3 separate regions of the Homo sapiens genome follow, and regions 2 and 3 are each linked to region 1. Evidence: promoter capture Hi-C in 16 types of primary human blood cells and fetal thymus (Javierre and others, 2016). All regions are on one chromosome and are shown on one strand. The core of a region is centred on a gene start or on the middle of the fragment in contact, and the rest is flanking DNA. Distances in the headings are between cores, read along the strand shown. Region 1 holds the start of SIK3 (SIK family kinase 3). Region 2 has its middle 53 kb from the start of BUD13. Region 3 overlaps BUD13 (BUD13 spliceosome associated protein).

Region 1 (3,618 bases), core at 793-3,292:
AGGCAGAAAAAAAGGAAAGAAATAGCAAAACAAGGAACAAGGCATATTGTTTGTAAATGTAAGTTTGCCTTGGCTAATAGTCAACTAGACTGGAAACACGGTGAGGGGCTGGGGTGGCAAGTGAGGAGCACACCAAAGTCTTGGCTCAATCGACTTCCCCTGACTTCCCCTCAGGGTCTGAGGGAGCCCTGGACTTTGGTATCTCATTCAGCTCTGACCTGCAGACTGGAGGCCCTGTGATAAAAACGGACAAAAAGGCTGAAGAGGGCCCTCCAGAGGAAGTGAAACTGACCAATCAATTCGCCACAGCCACCCACCCTGACACCCTGGTAAGAAGGGCCCCTTGTAGCCTCAGGCAGAAAGATGGTGGGGAAGGAACTTCAGGTTGCAAGTGATCAGGAGAGAAGGCCTAGATAAGTCACTGGCTTCAGAAAACAAGCCACTGCCAAAAAAGCAAAAACAAGGTAGGTCATGACAACCAGAGGCTAGGCTGAGGAGGTGAGGGGAATTGATGTGGCTTTGGTAGGAGGCGGCAGCAGCTGTAAGGGTTCTTCATTCCTCAGGCTGAGGGAAAACACAAGCTGCAGTTCTAAACATAATGAATGACTACATTAAAAGTATTCATTCAAGTAAGATATTGAGCAAAGAAAATTTTAGAGTAAAAATGGGCTTTGCGGGTTCCACCAAAACCAAAAGATTCCTCCTGATGTCTTAGATTCCAGTCCTCCCAACGAAGGCTACATGAAAGTGCTACCATATTTCCTCAAAGAATTTTACATGCATACATATATAGCTTCCTAATTGACCTTGGCCAATTTCACTCCTATAGCGCCTCAAATCCCTTTGAGAACTAAGGGCTCGATGAGTGTAATCTCCCGGTGTCTGGGTTCTTCAATCACAAGCTTCCCCCCAACCAGTAAAAGCCCACCCTGGGTTCTACAAAGCCCACAATTCCCGACCCTCCAACAACTAAAAATAACCAGCAATCAGCTCTCCCAAATTGTTTAACCCCTGACTACCTAGTGCCATCATAAACCTGGGACAGCCCCCACCCCCACCTCACTCCCCCATTCCCTGGGCCCCTTCCTGTGGACAAGCAAAGCAATTTCCCCCTTATTTCCCCATTTTCCTCATTGCCTCCTCCACTAATCGTGTCTCCTCGGGATCCCCTTCGCACCATCTATCAGTCTTAGATGATCAAATGCGGATTCCTGTCTCTGTCTTAAGGCACCAGGATCCTGGGACCTCCCAGCGCCCTGCAGACGTGCACATTCCCAGTCCGTGCCCCAGCCGTCCTGGGTCCCCTTACAAGCCCGGGTCTGCCACTTCACCCTTGTTTTTCCCCATCCTCCGGGTCCACATTTCATATGCCCCTGCCCTCATTCCCTTATGATTCCCTAGCTGCTGGTTCCAGAGTCTTCTGGGCTTACAGTCTCCCGGCCCTCGGGGAGTTCCGACCCCTTCTTTCCAATCATCCCCTTTACCCGCCTGCCCTCAGCCCCGAGGACCCCTCCCCGCGCCCGGCTCCTGGGCGCCGGTGCTCTGTGCCCTCGGCCCCCTGCTTGGAGTTCCGCCGTCTCGAGTCCCAGGTGTCCCTAGCTCCGCGCCCGCCCCGCCGCGGCTGGCTCCCTCCCGCCTCCCGGCCCCCAACGCTCCCACCACGCGCCGCGCTCGCCGCCCCGACCCCCCGGCTGGGGGGCGCGGACCTCTCCCGGCCCCGCCACGCTCCGACTGCCGCCTGGCCCCTGCGCCGGTACCTTGGCCTTGGTGACGAGGTGCGTGGCCCGCTTGACCACCGCGAAGTTGCCCTTGCCGATGGTGCGGTCGATCTCGTAGTAGCCGATACGGGCGGGCATGGGTCCGCGGGAGGCCGGGGCTGGGGGACGCGGCTGGCCGGCCGCAGGGGACACGGCAGCGGGGGCGGCTGGGGACCCCGGCGCGGGCGGAGGCAGCAGGCGGCCCGCGGGCCCGGCTCCCCCAGTCCCGGCCCCGGCAGCCCCGCCAGCTCCGCTCGCCGCCGCCGCCGCCATCTTGTTGTGCAGTGAAACCTCCGGGGCCGCGGGGAGCCGGCTCGGGGGAGGGGGCAAGGGGGGGCGGGAAAGGGGGGGCCGCGGACGTCACTCGGGGAGGCGGGGCGCTTTCGCCGACCGGCGCCCGGCTCCATGGCAACCGCGGGTCACGTGCCGACGCGCGTCACTGCCCGGAGCCATGGCAACCGTGACCTCACCGGCGGGCTCGACCTTCCCGCGTGGGCCCCGGTTCCTGAGGCGCTGGCTCCCGGGTGCCCCCCTCCGGGAGCTGGCGGTGGGAACCTTCGATGGGCCCCCAACCTCGAAGTCTCCGCCACCTTTCCCGAGTGGGGGGCGCAGGATGCCCGACCCAAAGCCAACCCCCCACCGCCGCTCGAATCGCCAATGTGACCTCTGCTGTGACCTCTGTCCCAGTTCAACGATCACCCAACCTCCCTTAACAAAAAAAAAGTGTTTCCTCATCACCAAAAATACCAGCGTTGTCCCACTTTAGCCCTTGAGGCCACAAATGCAGGAATAGCTACACTCTTGAAGCAACTGTAACCAAGTTGGTAACAACGCAGGGGAATTCTTCGGTAAAATTCCTTCCTCTTACAAAATCCAGCTCACCCTGCACAGTCAACCTAATTGTCACCGAATATAGGAGAATGGGGAAACTAGGATTTGCGTGTTCAAGGGCGGACAAGCCAGTCCAAACAGGCATTCCAGTCATTGGGTGGGTGACAGCCAAAGAAGGTACGTCATTTTCCTTCCTACCACCCCCATCTCTGAACAATTCTACAGGGATGTCTGTCAGAGTGCCTACATACTATTTCTGTTGCTTGTATAACCCTGATGAAGCAGTGGTGCGCATTGTCCAATGAACCACGTCGTGTTTAAACAACAGTCGGTTAAGCAAAATAAATAAGTAAATAATAAAAATTCCATCCTTCCTAGTGACTCTCCGAGGACATTGAGGGTCATCAAGTTAATAACTCCAGCAATTTCATATCTCTTTTTCTTCCCTTGCCTATTACCTGCATCCTTCATAGCTCCCAGGCTTCCTCCTCCTCTCTCCCCTTCCCTTTATTAAATAGATTAACTTAGCTGCTTTAGGTGAGGGTTGCAGGTAGGAAATCAGACTGTCAACAAAATAGTCTTTGGCAGGCTGGGTGGAAAGGAGGGAAGATTGTGAATATTCCAATGTTAAAATGTATTCCTTTGGACTAGTCCTGATCCATCCATATCTATGTCTCTCTCAATGGTAGAACTGTATTGTGAGGTCACTGCATGCACAGTATTAAAAACTGACACCCAGGGCACTGTAAATGTGTGGAAGGATAACTCGTGTTTACTCGCTGACCAAAGAACACCTCCTGGTGCTCCAATTCCCTATCCAACCATGAGTAATGGCTGGGACTTAAGATGGGACAGAGGGGTCATCCCACAATGGTCTTGGATCTATTCCCTGGTAGCTGTTCCAAACTGCCAACACAATTAACACTAATTGGCTCCCTTATTAGCAACTAAAGATAAGAATGAAGTGGGCCTTGGCTTCTTGCATTGGTTAAGCCCTTTCATCAGCTGAGCTCATTCCATCCCAGATAAA
Region 2 (3,618 bases), core at 282-2,781, 380 kb before region 1:
ATATACCTCCATGCACCTTCATAAACTGGCCTGAGAACACCCAGGAGGCCCAGAGACACTCTTACATTGTCTGGATTCACTTCACTGAGCACTTACTAAGTATCAGGCACTGTGTAAGGCAGTGTGTGTGAAGTGAGGACTTAGGTGGAGGTCTCCCTAAGAATGGTGGCGAGAAAAGACCCATGCCCAACATGCATGATGCAAAAGAGAGCGGGATACATGCATAAGCAAGGCATGAACCAAGCGCTGTGGGCATTTAGGGAAAGAAGGTATTGCTTCCAGCTAGTGGATAGGGCAGATTTGGTGGAGGAGGCTTCTTCTCTGGTCTGGAAGGACAGGTGAAATGTGGTGATGAAGAAGGTAGGGCATTCCACAGAGGCAACAGCCCACACTGAGATCTGGAGATGAGAATACTAAGAAGGCGGGGAGAGTACCTCCCCTGAATCTGGAGAAGGAAGGCAGCAGTTGGAAGGGTCCTCTCTTCTGGGCCATCCGCTTCCTCCTCCACTACCATATAGCTCTACCCTCTCCACTGTGTGTTCATGGGTGATGTTAGGTGGGCACAGCCAAGGGATGGCATGGAAGAGGGGTTATCTCAGGGCCTGTCCTAGAGAAGCTTGGGCCTAGGACACCCTCAACAGGACCATACATGTACCACCCCCGTTCTGCCACCTCCCTTTATCTGCCTCTCCAGCTTGGCCAAGGTTCAGTGGTGCTAATTAGCAGCAGTTAGCTCAGCTCCCCCATCCGGCCCCTCCGCCAGGGCAGGGACGTGACTGATCACTGAGGTTTCCTTTCTCTCCTGCAGGGAAGACACAGCAGGAAGCTAGAGGCAGGGGGCAAGAGGAAGGAGAAGCAGCTCCAGGAGTTAGCTGAGGTGGATAATAGAGAGGGAATGGACTTTGTTTGGACTAAACATTGTCATAGGCTTAAAGAGCTGAAGGCTTCTCTAGCTCCTGCTTGGGCAGGACTTCTGATAATAAGAACTCCTAGCAAGAAAGTGCTTGTAAAACCCCTCTCCTACACTGTCTCATTAGTTTAGTCCCCAAACAGCCATAGAAGACAGGCATTATCATTATATTATCATTATTATTGTTATTATTACTTAATGTCTTTCTTCCTTGGTCAATCTAAGATCCACAAGGGGCAGGGATCATGTCAACCTTGTCACGCTGTGTATCCTCAGTGCCACATACCGTGCCCAGCATAGAGGTGACATTCAATAAATAGTTGCTGGGTGGGTGGGTGGATGGATGGAAGGATGGATAGATGGAATAATGGATGGACAGAAAGGCAGGTGGATGAAGGATAAATTATCCCATTTTACAAATTAAGAAACTAAGGACCAGAGAGAAAAAGTGACTTACCCAAGACTAATCAGACAGCGAGTGACAGAGCAGCACCCAGTCCCAGTTCACAGCCTCCCCATCGGGCCTGCTCGCAATACTCAAACTGTCTCTCTTCTTTGATTTCTTGAACACAATCCACCAAGAAAGGTCCACCCTTCTGAAGATCTGATTCTCATCCTTCTTCCAGCAGCTGGTCAGAAGCCAAGCTCCTGCCAACTCGGCTCCCATAAAAAGAGCAGGATCCCGAGAGCCTAGTGACCAGGGACTAGAGACACAGAGGCCCTTTCTGATCACTGGTCTGGAAGAATCTGGCTGCCAACTGGTGAGGTAAAGGTAGACAGCGACAGCCAGAGTGCAAGTGCCCATGGAAGAGCTGGCACCGACGGCCCTGTGTGAGCAGCACAGCACTAGGAATCACACAGATGCCAGTTCAAAGCCCCAGCACTTGCCCTTCCACAAGCACCTGCCTCTGCAACGTCTTCCCTTCTTTCCTCCACCTCCATGCCCCTCACTCCCAACTTCTCCAAGCCCAGTCTCCTTATTGATAGCATGGAGTCATGACGGCTCTCACACACATTCCTCTGAAGGTTGAATTCGAGGAGGTGATGGGTCCTTTCACACCCAAGTCTGGTGATTTTCTCACAGCAGCCTCCCTGCCCCACCTCCTGACCCCGCCCACCACCCTAAGGGATGGAAGTTCTTCGTGCCTGGTTCTGTTCCTACCTCTGCCCCCAGTGCCACATCAGAGCCCTCTCCCCTTTGGCTCTGTGTTCTGAGGCAGCAGCCTGCTTACCTTCGCAGTCCCAGGATCAGTCCTCCGTCTCCAGACAAAACCTCTCCCACAGAGGGTTCTGTCTTCCTAGGAGGCCCCCTCAGATTTCCCACATAGACCCTGGGCGGGCCATCTGGCTCCCACTGTCCCTGTTGCCCTCTCTTCCTGTCTGGTTTTTCTAAAGCCCACATGTCTTTGCCCGGACCGGGCAGGAATCCTCTACCTCAGGCCCAGGAGCCCAAAGCAGGCCTCATTGCATTGGGGTTTGGAGGCGCACCTGCACATTTTCCAGGAAAGGGATCTGTAGCTAGAGGGAACCTCCCTAGAAAGCTTGAGCTTCACTGCCTGGAGACCCCCTCCCACCTTCCACTCTGCCATGAAAGACAGCTCAGGTTTCATCCACTGTAACTCAGTGTGAATTTTGCCCTTTCAGGTGCCCTGTTAACATGATTCCTCCCACCTGGCCTGACACCTATGTGGATTTCAAGGGCATAAGGCTCTGCCACTTAAATCGCCTCAACACCCCTGTCCCTTCCCCCGACTGTGGTCCTCAGCACAGGACATGGCCTTACTGCTCCACCACGTGCTTAGTATTCAAGCCATGCGCTGCCACCATGCTTCCCACCATGTCTCCTCCAAAGCAGAGCCTTCCGCGGTGTGCCCTGCAAGGTCCTAGTGGGTATCCTTGATGAGAACTAGATTCTGTACACAGTGGATGCTGCATCAATACTGTGGCCACTTAGAGGTTAGAGGGTGTATTAGTCAGGGTTCTCTAGAGGGACAGACCTAATGGAATAGATATATATATAAAGGAGAGTTTGAGTATTAACATATTAACTCACATGATCACAAGGTCCCACAATAGGCCATCTGAAGGCTGAGGAGCAAGGAGAGCCAGTCCGAGTTCCAAAACTGAAGAACATGGAGTCCAGTGTTCGAGGGCAGGAAGCATCCAGCACGGCAGAAAGATGTAGGCCAGGGGGCTAGGCCAGTCTCTCTTTTCACATTTTTCTGCCTGCTTATATTCTAGTTGCACTGGCAGCTGATTAGATGCTGATTAGATGCCCACCCAGATGAAGGGTGGGTCTGCCTTTCCCAGCCCACTGACTCAAATGTTAATCTCCTTTGGCAACACAGTTACAAACACACGCAGGATCAATACTTTGTATCCTTCAAGCCAATCAAGTTGACACTCAGTATTAACCATCACAGAGGGCCTATGGTTACAGCAGATGGAAATGGGGACCCTGGTAAAAGTGGGGATGCTGTAGAATCCTGGAGTTAACCTCTGAAAGAGATCCAAAGAGGTCATCTGATTCAAAAAAATTACTTCTTTAGTCCCTTCCATGTACCTAACACCGGAGACACAAAGATAGACAAGGCATGGTCCACTGAGATGAAATTAGTGTTATTCCTGTTGTACAGAAGAGGCAACTGAAGCCAGGTAAAGGTTAATGTCTGTCTAACTTACCAGCAGCTGGTAAGTAAAGGGGAGGA
Region 3 (3,618 bases), core at 719-3,218, 340 kb before region 1:
TCCTAAGCAGAATCAGAAAACAAATTGCAGGAGAACTCACAGTGGAAAGAGCTTTGGACCAGAGAATCAGGAACGCAGAGTTCTAATTCCAGCTTTCTCAGGGAAATTGCATGACTCTAGGCAAACTGCTTATTTATTGGGCCTCAGTTTCTCTTTTTTTTGAGACGGAGTCTTGCTCTGTTGCCCAGGCTGGAGTGCAGTGGCACGATCTCGGCTCACTGCAAGCTCCGCTTCCCGGGTTCACGCCATTCTCCTGCCTCAGCCTTCCGAGCAGCTGGGACTACAGGCGCCCGCCACCACGCCCAGCTAATTTTTTGTATTTTTTTTAGTAGAGACGAGGTTTCACCATGTTAGCCAGGATGGTCTCAATCTCCTGACCTCGTGATCTGCCCGCCTCGGCCTCCCAAAGTGCTGAGATTATAGGCATGAGCCACCGCACCCGGCCCCGTTTCTCTTTCAATTAAGAGAGGCTGGGTAATTATCTTATGGGTTTTTCCAACAGATACTATATATCTGTTCCGGAAATATTCCCTTGCAGCAGGCCGAAAAGAGACAAAACTAGAAAAGATGATGAAAGATGAATAACAAAAAGAAAGCAAGGGTGACAAAGGGAAATAAGAGAAGAAATCTAGGATAAAATCAGAACAAGAAGTGGAAAAAAGCAACTGAGAAAAATGAAGACAAATTAAATACTAGTAAAAAAAAACTAGGTCAGGGAGAATTCTAAGTTTTGGGTCCAAAAATTAAAAAACAAAAAACAAAAACTCGGTAGCAGGGAACATCTGTAGGGTTGTGCTATAAAAAGATCTACTTCTGGCTGTATGTATGGCAAATGAGTGTTCTGAAAAATCCTCCTTCTACCAAAAAGCCTACATACAGTGAACTGCAAACGGAACTAGTAAGCTAGCCTGTAACCACAGCTACCCTAAAGATATCTGCCAAGATGAGGAACTACAGTCAACTTATAGATATCTGCCAATATCAGAAAGAAGAGCCTTAAATTTTTTTATTCTGGAGTTGGGGTCTCACTATGTTGCCTAGCCTGGACTTAAACTCCTGGGTTCAAGCGATCTTCCTGCCTCAGCCTCCCAAATAGCTGGTACTACAGACACACGCCACCACACCTGGCTGTTGGATTTTGACGGCACCCCGAGGGACAGAAGACAACGCCTTAGGCCCATATAAGGTGGGGAGACAGATTCTAGACATTGCAGAGTAACCCGAACAGACTAACCTATCCTCAGTTAGCAACTATAAAACCTAGACAAAACAAAAAAAATAGGTATTTGAAGGTGTGGAAGAGTGACCAAAAGTAAGTATGAACTGGATGAAGTCTATATGTGAAAAGAGATTTGCTGGAGGGCAACTTCCCAAACAGCATGGCTCATGAAGGCAGAAAGCCACAGGCTTACTGGCTTGAGGAATTAGTGCAAAGTGGGCAGAACAGCTAGGAAATTAGGGGGGAAATCTTGGAAGAGAAGGAACTACAAAAGAGATGAACCTCAAAATCTACATACAAACCCTAGTCAAATCCTTGGCTAACTGTTAAATGACACATGTGCAGAGAAAATACCATCAGGCCAATTAAAAAAATGGCAGCTAGAAACTAAAAGAACTGAGCAAAGATTGTAGCTGCCGTCCACTGCAAAGGAGACAGTTTGGAGTTCAGCTATGTTAACTACCTGCTAGAATAAAAACTAACACACTTAAGAGGAATACAGTGTAACAGAACTCAAAGTCTCTACAGTGTATCATTCATGATGCGTAGTAACAATTTTAAAAAGTGACCAGACAGGTAAATAAACAGGAAAATGTAATACACACTGAAGAAAAAGCTGTCAATAGAAACCAATCCTGTGGTGAATCCAATGTTGCAATTAGCAGACAGGACTTCAAAGCACTAATTACATATCATAAATATTTTCAAGAAGAGGAAAATGTCTCATAATGAACAGATGGGAAATCTCAGCAGAGAAATGTAAGCTATTAAATGGAAATTTTAGAGTTGAAAAACAAAATAAACCAGCTAAAACAAAAAATCCACAATTGATAGTAACTGATAGAAAAATACAAACACAAAAAACCCAGAATACAGGCGATCTAAGATCTAAACACCTTGACCTCACTGACTTTTATAAAACACTACCTTATATAGCTACAGAATATACGTTCTCTTCAAGTGCAAAGGAAACATTCAGAAGATAGACTATCCACTGGGCCATAAAACACACCTTAACAAATTTCATTTTTATTATTGTTTTTTGATACATGGTCTCACTCTGTCATCCAGGCTGGAGTGCAGTGGTGCAATCACAGCACATTGCAGCCTCGACCTCCCTGGGCTCAGTGATCCTCCCACCTCAGCCTCCACAGTAGCTGGGACTATAGGCGTGTGCCACCATGCCCGACTAATTTTTGTATTTTTTTGTAGAGACAGGGTTTTGCCATGTTGCCCAGGCTGGTCTCAAACTCCTAGGCTCAAGCAATCCGTCTGCCTTGGGCTCCCAAAATGTTGGGATTACAGGCATGAGCCACTGTGCCTGGCCAACAAATTTCAAAAGATCAAAATATTACAGTATATTATCTGACCAAAATGGAATTAAATTATAAGTAAATAGCAGTAAGATATCTAGAAAAGTCCAAATATTTGGAATTAATGCACTCCTAAATAACCCATGGAGCAAAGAATAAACCAAAAGGATAATTAGAAAATATTTTGAACAAAATCCAACATACATTCCTGAAAACAAAACTCTCAGCAAAACAGGAATAGAAGGGAACTTTAACTCCATAAAGGATATCTACAAAAAACCTATACAGCTACAACACATTTAATAAATGTGTTGTAAAAACTAAATGTTTTCTTCCTGAGATTAGGAACAAAGCAAAGATGTCTGCTCTCACTACTTCTATTCAACATCTGCACTGAAGTGCTAGCTAATGCAACAGGGCAAGGAAAAGAAACAAAAAGCATCTAGATTGTAAAGTAAGAAATTAAACTGTATGCAAAGATGGAAGACCCTCTAGGTACAAAATCTGATGGAATCTATAAAAAGCTATTGTACAAAGTGAGCTTTACCTGAAGGAAAACAACTGACAATACAGTGTAACAGAACTCAAAGTCTCTACAGTATATCATTCATGATGTCCAGTAACAATTTAAAAAAGTGACCAGACAGGTAAATAAACAGGAAAATGTAATACACACTGAAGAAAAAGCTGCCAATATAGAAACCAATCCTGTGGTGAATCCAATGTTGCAATTAACAGACAGGAAGGACTTCAAAGCACCAATTACATATCACAAATATTTTCAAGAAGAGGAAAATATCTCATAATGAACAGATGGGAAATCTCAGCAGAGAAATTAAGCTATTAAATGGAAATAGCTCAAGCAATGGAAATGCCAGTGATAACATTTAAACTTTCAAGTGTAAATTAGAATTCTGAAAAACTGTGAACTCTTTAACTTCCCATTATTTAAAGAGTTTTGTGATAAGACCGGAAGTGATGTTAACAAAAGTGATTTTCTGATATTGTATAGTGGAAATATGTCAACATTTGGAAGGTCTGAACAACTCAGCAAACCAATATTTTACAAATGACCAATGCATGATG

What was found. The method cuts DNA at HindIII sites, captures the fragments that hold promoters and counts their contacts. A CHiCAGO score of 5 or more calls a contact.
Region 2: a fragment that was not itself captured here is called in contact with the fragment with the promoter of SIK3 in region 1 in 1 of 17 cell types (erythroblasts); the score reaches 5.9 in erythroblasts.
Region 3: a contact is called between a fragment that was not itself captured here and the fragment with the promoter of SIK3 in region 1, in 16 of 17 cell types (naive CD8 T cells, total CD8 T cells, fetal thymus and 13 more). The highest score is 15.4, in naive CD8 T cells.

What each region holds. Positions count from the first base shown.
Region 1 is chr11:117,096,386-117,100,003 of GRCh38, forward strand. It overlaps SIK3 (SIK family kinase 3), which reads right to left and starts at 2,043. Exons shown (of 25, transcript NM_001366686.3): 1 at 1,758-2,043. The coding sequence starts at 2,030. RefSeq lists an enhancer at 551-600 and silencers at 1,922-1,971, 2,052-2,231. The HindIII fragment of the contact is 6,059 bases long and covers 901-3,618 here.
Region 2 is chr11:116,718,380-116,721,997 of GRCh38, forward strand. No RefSeq gene overlaps it. Among named protein-coding and RNA genes, the nearest start is that of BUD13, 53 kb to the right of the region's middle. The HindIII fragment of the contact is 1,835 bases long and covers 615-2,449 here.
Region 3 is chr11:116,751,801-116,755,418 of GRCh38, forward strand. All of the region lies in intron 9 of BUD13 (BUD13 spliceosome associated protein), which reads right to left. Among named protein-coding and RNA genes, the nearest start is that of BUD13, 19 kb to the right of the region's middle. The HindIII fragment of the contact is 4,243 bases long and covers 1-3,618 here.